3 separate regions of the Homo sapiens genome follow, and regions 2 and 3 are each linked to region 1. The links are contacts of gene promoters, found by promoter capture Hi-C in blood cells and fetal thymus (Javierre and others, 2016). All regions are on one chromosome and are shown on one strand. Each heading gives the region's core, a stretch centred on a gene start or on the middle of the fragment in contact. The rest is flanking DNA. Distances are from core to core; before and after follow the strand shown.

Region 1 (3,387 bases), core at 549-3,048:
ATTCCAGGGAGTCATTTATGGGAGGGCCTGGCCTTGGCTCTTCAGCCGCAGTATCTCTCTCCCTGAGGAAGAAATATTTCCCTTGGTTTCCCAGCCTCTCAAAAGTTGTGTAATGTCAGGATGCCTTGAGCTTTTCCATACTTGACAAGTGTCATTGCAGAGCTTGGTAGATCCATAGCCAGCTGTCATCCTTGATGTCTTGCTGAACTGCAGGGATGTATTTACTTGCAGTGAATTCTTGTGATCTTTAGGGATGTGAATTTTCCTCAGCTTCGGGACACTTGTGAAATGTGACTTTTGTCCTGGCACGGAAGCTGGGCATTGGCTCCCAGATGGAAACTGGACTCTGAGAGAGGCAGAAAAGAAGGGTGGATCAGATTGTGGACTTCATGGTATGTTCTTGGGTGCTTCTCATGATCTCTTTGAAAGTTACTGACCAGGCTGGGCATGGTGGCTCATGCCTGTAATCTCAGCACTTTGGGAGGCCAAGGTGGGCAGATCACTTGAGGCCAGGAGTTTGAGACCAGCCTGGGCAATATAGCAAGACCTCATATCGACAAAAAGAAATAAAACTTAGCTGCGTGTGGTGGTGCGCACCTGTACTCCCAGCTACTCAGGAGGCTCAGCTGGGAGGACAGCTTGAGCCCAGGAATTCAAGGTTGCGGTGAGCCATGACTGCACCACTGCACTCCAGCCTGGGCAACAGAGTGAGACTTTGTCTCTTAAAAACAAAACAAAACAAAACAGTTACTGACCCAAGAGACAAATGCATTGGGCTGGGGTTGAAGGAGGAGAATGGCTGCTACAGCCCTGCTCTAGGAGCTGGGCTGGGTTAGACTCAGTGCCCACAGAGAGCACCTAAATAGGATGGATCGGTTCTAGGGTTGATGATCTCTTAGGGCCTGGGTCTAGAGAGTGAGTGTGGTTCAGCACATCTTGGGATGCTACCAGGACTGAACCAGACTTCCTAGGTTCCATGACATGGGGACATACTGGATTCTGTGACTCAGTCCATGGCAGGCTGAAGCAGAACTGAATCAGCCCTCAGCAATGTAAGGGGGGGTACCCTCGACTCCCTGGGGCTCTGTTGGATGCATTGCTTTGTGGGTGCTCACCGACTCCTCATTTCATTCTTTGCTAGGGACGCGGCTATGGTACTGGCAGCTGGCTCATGTACAGGGTTCAGGCCCCATTTTCCTTACTGGTCCTGTGTCCTTTGTCTCTCAGACCCTGTTGTCTGTCTTTCCTTGGTATGTCATGTCTGGTATCCTCAGCTCACGCCGCCACGGGAGAACTGTCCTCTTCTCAGCTTGTCATTTTGGAAGCAGCCTCCAGCAACCTTGCTTTCCTCCTCTGACTATACTCCGGCCTGCAGTGCCACTACTCACGCCCCCAAATAATTTAAACTGCCTTTCTTAGGAGACAAGAGCTAGTTGAAAAGTCTCCTCATTTTCCTTCAACCCTGTATCATGGGTGGCCTGAGAGAGTGAGGACTGAATTCATTGACTCCCCTTTCTCTGCACCCCCCACCCCCAAGGAAATAGCCGAGTTCGACTAATGGGAGTTGCCTGGCCAATCGTTGCCCTGAGAAAGTTTGGTTTGTGATCCTATTTCAGTAGGCTGATTGGAGCAGCCTTTACTTGGAGGTCGAGTCCCTCCCCGAGGGAATCCGTGTACAGTTACACTAGCGGTCGCTGCCAGTGCTAGCCCATTCAGGATAGCCCCCCTCACCCCGCCCCCAGCCCCCGCTCCTCCTCCTCCTTTTTTGTTTTTATCCAGTGTCTCGCTTCCTCTCTCTCTCTCTCTCTCTGTCTCTCTCTCCCTTTCCCTCCTACCACTGCCTCTTCCTCCCGCTCTCTACCTCCCTGCAGCGCCAAGCCGGCTCCCCAACCTGGTCTGCTGAACGCAAACCGCTGAGAGTTTGCTGCACCGCCCCCTGGGGCCCCTGGCTGCCGAGTCCCGCTAAGGCAAAGACGCCAGCAAGCGAGGAAGCGCAGCGGAAGAAAAACAAGCGGGCGCGCGAGGGGAGCCCCAGGAGGGCTGCCGAGTGGCTGGCAGGCGGCTCCCGCCCCTCCCGGGTGGCCTCGCCGGCGGCTGACGGCCCGGAGGACGCGCGCTCCGAAAAGTTAGACTCCGGGCGGCGGCGCGCTACGCCGCGTCCCCTCGCGTCCCTTCCTCGCTGCGCTCCGGGAAAGGAACTTGTTCCTTCGGCCCCAGGATTGGGGAGTGTGCCGCGGGGCCGAGGGTGGGGAACAGCCAGAGGGAGACGCGAACCAGGCCGCTGGCGGAGGGCTCAGGGGGAGCGCAGAGGCGACGGCCCCCATGCCGGCGGCCAACATGATGGAGAACCGGCCGCTGCCCGCCCTGCAGGTGCCCGAGCCGCAGGGTGCGCCCGAGGGCAGCCCGGTCTGGTCCAGTTCGTCGACCCCCACGCTTCGCCGCCGGCGCTTCAAGATGCGCCGCATGAAGAACGTACAGGAGCAGAGCCTGGAGGCCGGGCTGGCCCGGGACCTGCCCGCCGTCTTGGCCCCCGGCAAGGAGTTCCTGCAGCTGCCGTCCATCGAGATCACGCCCTCCAGCGACGAGGACACCCCGTGGTCCAACTGCTCCACACCCAGCGCGTCCCCGCGCCGAAAACGCTTCCTCCTCCGCAAGTGGCTGAGGGTGAGGGAGCGGAAGGAGTGCAGTGAAAGCAGGTACGTCCCCGTTCCGCCCGTCTCCTTCCCTTCCCTCCCGTCCTCTCCAGAGCCGTCCAGGGCCCCGGGGCATTCTGGGGGAAACGTCCTGGGGGAGAACAGGAGCCCGTCACCAGAGGCGCTTCTGGAGGGCGCTGCGCCTGGTCCCAGGGATGGTGGCATTCAGCTTCCACGCGTGCCACCCGCTCCCCAACTCAGGGTGAGGGGCTTCATGTTGCACGACACGTTTACGTGGGGCTTTACGCTGCATTCCATCTCCCTTGATCCTCGCAGCGAAATAAATAATAAAAATAATAACAGCTAATAGTTATTGAGCCCTTACCATGTGCGGGCCACTATGTTGCGCACTTCATGTACCTCCAGATTTCATCCCTACGCAAACTCTCTGAGGTAGGTATTACTATGGCTCCCTTTCTACAGAAGGAGATAGTAAAAGGCCAGAGAACAGTTAAGTGGTTTATATTTCAGGACTCCGTTTCAATCTTATTTTATGTTTGGCCACACCGGATTGCCTTAACTGGCTCACTTGTGTGGAAGTGAAATATTGACATTGAGTGAGTCACATTTCCTACCATATCAGAGTCTTTAGACATCGATACCTACAAGACTGTGGTTTGTACCAGCTAGTTTTTTGCCTAGGTCAATGTGGCATCTGGGTAATGGGAGAAGGTTGAGCTTCCCTCACGTAGAG
Region 2 (3,387 bases), core at 258-2,757, 170 kb before region 1:
TCAGGGATGAGTAACTTGCTGGAGACCAGGTAGCAGTAAATGGCTGTGGTGACACCAATGTTTGTACTGCAGTTCCATGTGGGCATTAACCACCTGAAGTTAGTGTAGACCCCACAAGGTGAAGGTGTCGTTCTCAACAAGATTGTCCCCACTTAGATGTCAGCTGCAAAAGGGGTCCCCAGGCACTCACATTTCTGACCAATTGGCTTCAAATCTGGGGGTCCCTACAATGCCCTTCAGGTTTGATAATTTGCTAGAATGACTCACAGAACTCGGGAAAGTGCTATTCTTATGATTATACTTTTATTCTAAAGTATACAAATCAGGACCAACTAAATGAAGAGATGCACAGGGAGAGGTCCGGGTGGGCCTCGAATGAAGAGCTTCTGTGTCCTTTCTCTGTGGATCAGGGTGCATCACCCTCTTGGCATATTGGTGTGTTCACCAACCAAGAAGCTCAATGAGCTTCAATGTCTAGGGTTTTTATTGGAGTTTCACTTTGTAGACATAACTGATAACTCAATCTCCAGCCCCCTCCCTTTTCTGGGCTCAAAGCCCCAACCCTCTAATTTCATGGTTGGTCTTTCTGATAACCAGCCTCCATCCTGAGCCATTTCGTTATCTCACACTCCTGGCCTCAGGCAATCCTCCCACCTCAGCCTCTGGAGCAGCTGGGATTACAGATGCCAGCCACAGCACCTGGCCTGAGCAATCTCATCATAAACTCAGGTGTGATTCAAGGAGCTCATGAATAACAAAGCCACTTCTATCACTTGGGAAAGTTCAGGGGTTTTTGAAGTTCAGCTCTAAACCTGGGTTAAAGACTAGACAAATTCTTTGTCATACAATAGTCGCAGAGCCAGGCAAGTCTGTGTCTGCAGAATCCAGCAAAGTGACTTCCCCTGTGCCCAAAAATGTACCCCAAACACCTGGCTCCCACCTGGCTTTCTGACTATGAGTTTAGGAGAAAGTGAGAAATTGTGATGTATTCGGACCTCTGGAAGTCTTGGAGAGAGGTGTCAGATAGTTCAAAACCACATCCTGTCCTTCTGTTTTGCCCACCTCAAAACCAGACAAAACCCACAGCCCTATTTCCACATTTCTAAGGTAAGAAGCCTAAAGCAGGAAGGATGCTGGAAGAAAATGTGCTGTTCTTCTTCCACCTTAGCAAAGAGCTTGTCATCAGGACAGCCCAGGGCTTCTGAAAGCAAGCCACGTGAGAGGTGCTAGCGCAGACCTTGATTGGAGAGGTCTGCTGTTGGGAGCAAGCCCCCCAAAATCTGGCCATAAACTGGCCCCAAAACTGGCCATGAATAAAATCTCTGCAGCACTGTAACATGTCTATAATGGCCCTAACGCCCAAGCTGGAAGGTTGTGGGTTTAGGGGAATGAGGGCAAGGAACACCTGGCCCACCCAGGGCAGAAAACCGCTTAAAGGCATTCTTAAGCCACAAACAAAAGCCTGACGATCTGTGTCTTAAGGGCGTGTTCCTGCTGCAGTTAACTAGCCCAACCTACTCAATTAATTCGGCCCATCCCTTCATTTCCCTTAAGGGATACTTTTAGTTAATTTAATATCTATAGAAACAATGCTAATGACTGGTTTGCTGTTAATAAATACGTGGGTAAATATCTGTTCGGGGCTCTCAGCTCTGAAGGCTGTGAGACCCCTGATTTCCTACTTCACACCTCTGTATTTCTGTGTGTGTGTCTTTAATTCCTCTAGCACCGCTGGGTTATGGTCTCCCCGACCGAGGTGGTCTCAGCAGTCTGCATTCAGCTTTAATCTGCATTTTAAACAAAAACCCTCCATCCCACACATCCCTCTGCCCTAGGAAGCCATGTCCCAAAACTTGCAAAGCAAAATTGAGCGGTTGATGAGGAATGATTTTAAAGGAATAAAGGAATAAAATCCTGGGCATGCAGGCTACAAAAGGAGAGTATATCCACTTTAATTACTGATGCGAGGTCTTGCAGCGGTGAGCAGGAAAGGGTATGTAGCATCTAAATGCCTACCACAGTGCACTGAGCCCTCACAATTTCATGAAGTATGCCCTACTATCCTACTTTTTATTTTTTTATTTTTGAGACAGGGTCTCACTCTGTCACCCAGGCTATAGCACAGTGGCAAAATCCCAGTTCACTGCAGCCTCCACCTCCTGGGGTTAGGTGATCCTCCCACCTCAGCCTCCTGAGTAGCTGGGACCACAGGTGCGCACCACCACGCCTGGCTAATTTTTGTATTTTTCACCATGTTGGCCAGGCTGGTCTCAAACTCCTGGGATCAAGCAATCTGCCCACCTTTGCTTCCCAAAGTGCTGGTGTTACTGCAAAGGGGTCACAATCCAGACCCCAAGAGAGGGTTCTTGGATTTTGCACAAGAAGGAATTCCAGGCGAATCCATAAAGTGAAAGCAAGTTTATTAGGGAAGTAAAGGAATAAACAGTGGCTACTCCACAGGCAGAGCAACGGCTGGGTTTGTTGAGCTGCTTGGACTTATTGTTACTTCTTGATTGTATGCTAAACAAGGGGTGGATTATTCATAAGTTTTCTGGGAAAGGGGTGGGCAATTCCCGGAACTGAGTGTTCCTCCTCTTTTTAGACTCCATAGGGTAACTTCCTGACGTTGCCATGGCATCTGTAAACTGTCATGGCATTGGTGGGAGTGACTTTTAGCATGCTAGTGAATGATAATTAGCATATAATGAGCAGTGAGGATGAGCAGAGGTCACTCTCATGGCCATCTTGGTTTTGGTGGGTTTTGGATGGCTTCTTTACTGCAACCTGTTTTCTTAATATCAGCAAGGTCTTTATGACCTATGTTTTGTACCAACCTCCTATCTCATCCTGTGACTAAGAATGCCTAACCTCCTGGGAATGCAGCCTAGTAGGTCTCAGCCTTGTTTCACCCAGCCCCTATTCAAGATGGAGTCGCTCTGGTTCAAATACCTCTGACAGTGGGATTACAGGCATGAACCACCACACTTAGTCCCTACTTTAATAAATAAAGAAAATAAGGCTCTGAGAGTTAAAGAATTTGCCCAAAGATAAGGAATTAGGAAGAGACAAAGCTCTGATTCAAACCCAGGTTCAGTTCCAAGACCCACTCTCCAAGCTGCCTCCAGTAGCCAGTAAGAGCTTGGAAAATGTTGCTGTCCTTTTTGTTTGCTTGGTGTTTCATTAAATATTATTTTGTATGATTATGTAATTAAACTGTGATCCTCAGAAAACCTGTAATTTTGAAAGCCCAGGGCAGCAGAACGAAGCTAATGAAAGGCAAGCTTCATTTACATGCATCGGGCTGGGAGAATACTCAGGTCATTCCTCTGAACACCCTGGCGACCTTGCTTAGCTTGGTCTAAACATTAGGCCGTTTTCAGTTCTTAA
Region 3 (3,387 bases), core at 244-2,743, 150 kb before region 1:
CAATTGTTTTAGACACTGGCAACTACCTTTTCTTTTCTTTCTTTTTTCTTTTTCTTTTTAGATAGGGTCTCGATCTGTTGACCAGGCAGGAGTGCAGTGGTGCAATCACAGCTCACTGCAGCCTCGACCCCTAGGGCTCAAGCAATTTCCCACCTCAGCCTCCTGAGTAGCTAGGATTACAGGCACAAGACACCAGGCTAATTTTCGTTTCTTTTTTTGTACAGGTGGGCATCTCACTATGTTGACCAGGCCAGTCTTGAAGTCTTGGGCTCAAGCGATCTACCCGCCTTGGCCTCCCAAGTAGCTGGGACTACAAGTGTGCATCACCAAACCCAGCTAATATTTTTTATTTTTTATTTTAGTAGAGTTGGAATCTTGCTATGTTGCCCAGGCTGGTCTCAAACCCCTAGGCTCAAATGACCTTCCCTCCTTGGCCTCCCAAAGTGCTGGGATTACAGCAATGAGCCACTGGGCCTGGCCTGCCTTTTTGATACATACCTGAGGAAAAGGACAAAGGCATTTTAATTCAGTGCATTTAGAAAAAATTAAGGCCTCCCCAAAGGCAAAATTATTATCTATCACCTAAGGTGGGCAATGGGCTAGGATTTTCTATTAGATGAGGGTGATAACTTGGGAACAAGAGCATTACCTGGAAGCCAGACCTGGTTTTATCAGCAACAGATTCAAATTTCCTGGGCAATGCATTTGAGTACTCCTGGAGTCCGTTTTCTTTTCTGTAGCATGAGCAAAGCGTCTCTGAACTTTCTGATCTCAAGATGATACGAGATTAAATGAGATCGTTTTGTAAAGAATAGTCCCATAGAAAACACAGGGCACACTGCGCTTCACTGTAGTGTCAGGCAGCAGGGCCCCCGCCTTAGATCCATGGGAGGAGACCTGACTTCCTGCCCTCCTTCTCAAAGGTGGCATCCAGGCTGGCTCAGTTCCTTCTATCAGGGTGGCTTAATAGTTGTCCTGGCTGTTTTCATTTGAGCAGGATAGGAAAATAATGTAGTGGGATTGTCCAAAAATCTAGATATGACTACAATTCTCCTTATTTGGCTTTTTTTTTTTTTTTTTTTTTTTAGATACAGGGTCTCGCTCTGTTGCCCGGGCTGGAGTACAGTGTCACAATCACAACCCACTGCAGCCTTGACCTCTGAGGCTCAAGCGATCCTCCCATCTCAGCCTCCTGAGTAGCTGGGACCACAGGTGTGTGCCACCATGCCGGCCTAATTTTTTAATTTTTTTGTAGAGATGCGGTCTCCCCTATGTTGCCTAGGCTGGTCTCAAACTCTTGGGTTTATTTGGTATTTTTAAAGGATATTTAGAGTCACAAGAGAGAGTTATCTTTTTTTATAGACCAGTCTTCTTGCAGGATAAGGGACACGAGAAAAATCCTACTCTCACACAACTTCTGATCACAACTTTCATGTGGGACCTGGAGATTTCTGTCTTATTGCACTGTTATGAAGACAAGGTCAGAATATATGTAAAGTGCTCATAGCAGGGCTCATAGCAGTGCCTGACCAGGGAGTACTCCATGAGGGTCAGCTCTACGAGAAGCAGATTCACACGGAATAGGCCCACCCCTAACATCGTGGCCTGAGGCAAGACTACATCTGAAAGCCCACTTACCTCTGAATATTTAAAGTTCTGAATTGGAAAACAAATTGCTCATTAAATATGTCCTATTCTACTTTAACACATAGATCTGTATAACGACCTGGAAGGCCCAGTTTAAAATGAGAATTATTGGACCCCTTGGAGTTGTGTGTCAAAACACACACAGCCAGGCGTGGTGGCTCACTCCTTTAATCCCAGCACTTTGGGAGTCTGCGGCAGGTGGATCACTTGAGGCCAGGAGTTCAAGACCAACCTGGCCAACATGGTGAAACCCTGTCTCTACTAGAAATACAAAAATTAGTTGGACATGGTGGTACACACCTGTAATTACAGCTACTTGGGAGGCTGAGGCACGAGAATCACTTGAGCTGGTGAGGCAGAAGTTGCAGAGAGCTGAGACTGCACCACTGCACTCCAGCCTGGGTGACAGCGAGACTCTGTCTCAAAAAAAAACAACAACATGGGTTGTGGGGAGAGCTGGCTTTTGGCTCCTTATGCCCCAGCCTGCAGCCTTCTCCCTTCCCTTTTCACTTCTGGCTCTGACTTGCCTGCGAGGGCAGTGTAGCCACACATTGGAGCTCCCTCCTACTCCCTGCAGTCACCCCTGCACCCCCTCTTGGTTCCAGCAGTGCACAGCTGGGGTGCAGTGCCACTCTCCGGGGATGGGCTTAAGAAAGGAGCCTGTGGAGGCCCTAGAAGCAGGTTTGGGGCTATTTGCATAGAGAATACTGGGAGCAGGGGTACCTGGCATGGGATTCAGCTGGTCATGGCTTCTTGGCCCACAGACTTCTCTCCCCATGGGAGCCAGATGGGAAGCCAGAGTGTGGGATCCCCTGGAGCATGGGGCACAGAATGGGAACCCCTCCTTGACTGGGTCTAAGGGCTGTACTGGCTGGTGTTTTAGAGCATTTCCATTGTAGGAGATAGACTGCCTGGGATTACATCCTGGTTTCTGCACTTTATGGAGTGGTGAAACCAGAATTTAACTGGGTGGTTTACCTAAAACCTCTGTGTCAAAATTTCCTCATCTATAAAACAGGGGTGATGGTAGGAGTACTCACCCCATAGGGTTGTTATGAGGATTAAATGAGTGAATATCTGTAAAAGCACTTTGAAATGTGCTTTGTTTGCATACACAGCGTGCTATAGGTATTCATGTCCACACCTCCTTCTTTTAAAAAAACAATTCTTGACCTAGTCTAAGCATAATAGTCAATGTCTCATTCCTGCTTCTGCTTGCAGAAAGGAAGACAGGAAGGAAACAAACAGTGATTTCACACAATGGTTCTAAAATTGCCTTCTAAGGTGTGAATTTAGTTAGTTAGTTTTTTTTTTTTTTTCTTTTCAATGTTTGGAAAGAGACTACACTGCCCAAAAGGCATTCTGGTGTATCCAAATAGGAAACCCCATAGAGAGGGGTGAGAGCACTTGTATGTACGGTGGCAGGAAGTAGATGGTGCAGTATTTTCTCAAGATCATTAAGCACACAAAAGGGTCCCATCTGTTTGGGACACATCAAACTTTTGTCCAGTTTGAAGGCAGAGGATGAGATGGAACGATTTTTTGTTAAATTATGGTTTTTTAAAAAATTCACATAATGTAAAATTTACCATGTTACCATTTTCAAATGTATAGTTCAGAAGTGTTCAGTGTATTTACATCATTGTACAACCAATCTCCAGGACTTTTTCATCTTGTAAAACTGAAACTGTGTATCTATTAAACTTTACACAACTCCCCTGCCTTAGTCCATTTGTGTTG

The links. The method cuts DNA at HindIII sites, captures the fragments that hold promoters and counts their contacts. A CHiCAGO score of 5 or more calls a contact.
Region 2: a contact is called between a fragment that was not itself captured here and the fragment with the promoter of GRAMD1B in region 1, in 1 of 17 cell types (fetal thymus). The highest score is 7.7, in fetal thymus.
Region 3: a contact is called between a fragment that was not itself captured here and the fragment with the promoter of GRAMD1B in region 1, in 1 of 17 cell types (fetal thymus). The highest score is 5.3, in fetal thymus.

What each region holds. Positions count from the first base shown.
Region 1 is chr11:123,428,471-123,431,857 of GRCh38, forward strand. It overlaps GRAMD1B (GRAM domain containing 1B), which reads left to right and starts at 1,799. Exons shown (of 20, transcript NM_001387025.1): 1 at 1,799-2,696. The coding sequence starts at 2,323. It overlaps LOC124902776 (a long non-coding RNA gene), which reads right to left and starts at 2,744. Exons shown (of 2, transcript XR_007062928.1): 1 at 2,477-2,744; 2 at 1-346. RefSeq lists silencers at 1,937-2,266, 2,377-2,426. The HindIII fragment of the contact is 5,032 bases long and covers 1-3,387 here.
Region 2 is chr11:123,258,079-123,261,465 of GRCh38, forward strand. No RefSeq gene overlaps it. Among named protein-coding and RNA genes, the nearest start is that of LINC02727, 55 kb to the right of the region's middle. The HindIII fragment of the contact is 3,544 bases long and covers 1-3,279 here.
Region 3 is chr11:123,274,351-123,277,737 of GRCh38, forward strand. No RefSeq gene overlaps it. Among named protein-coding and RNA genes, the nearest start is that of LINC02727, 39 kb to the right of the region's middle. The HindIII fragment of the contact is 6,858 bases long and covers 1-3,387 here.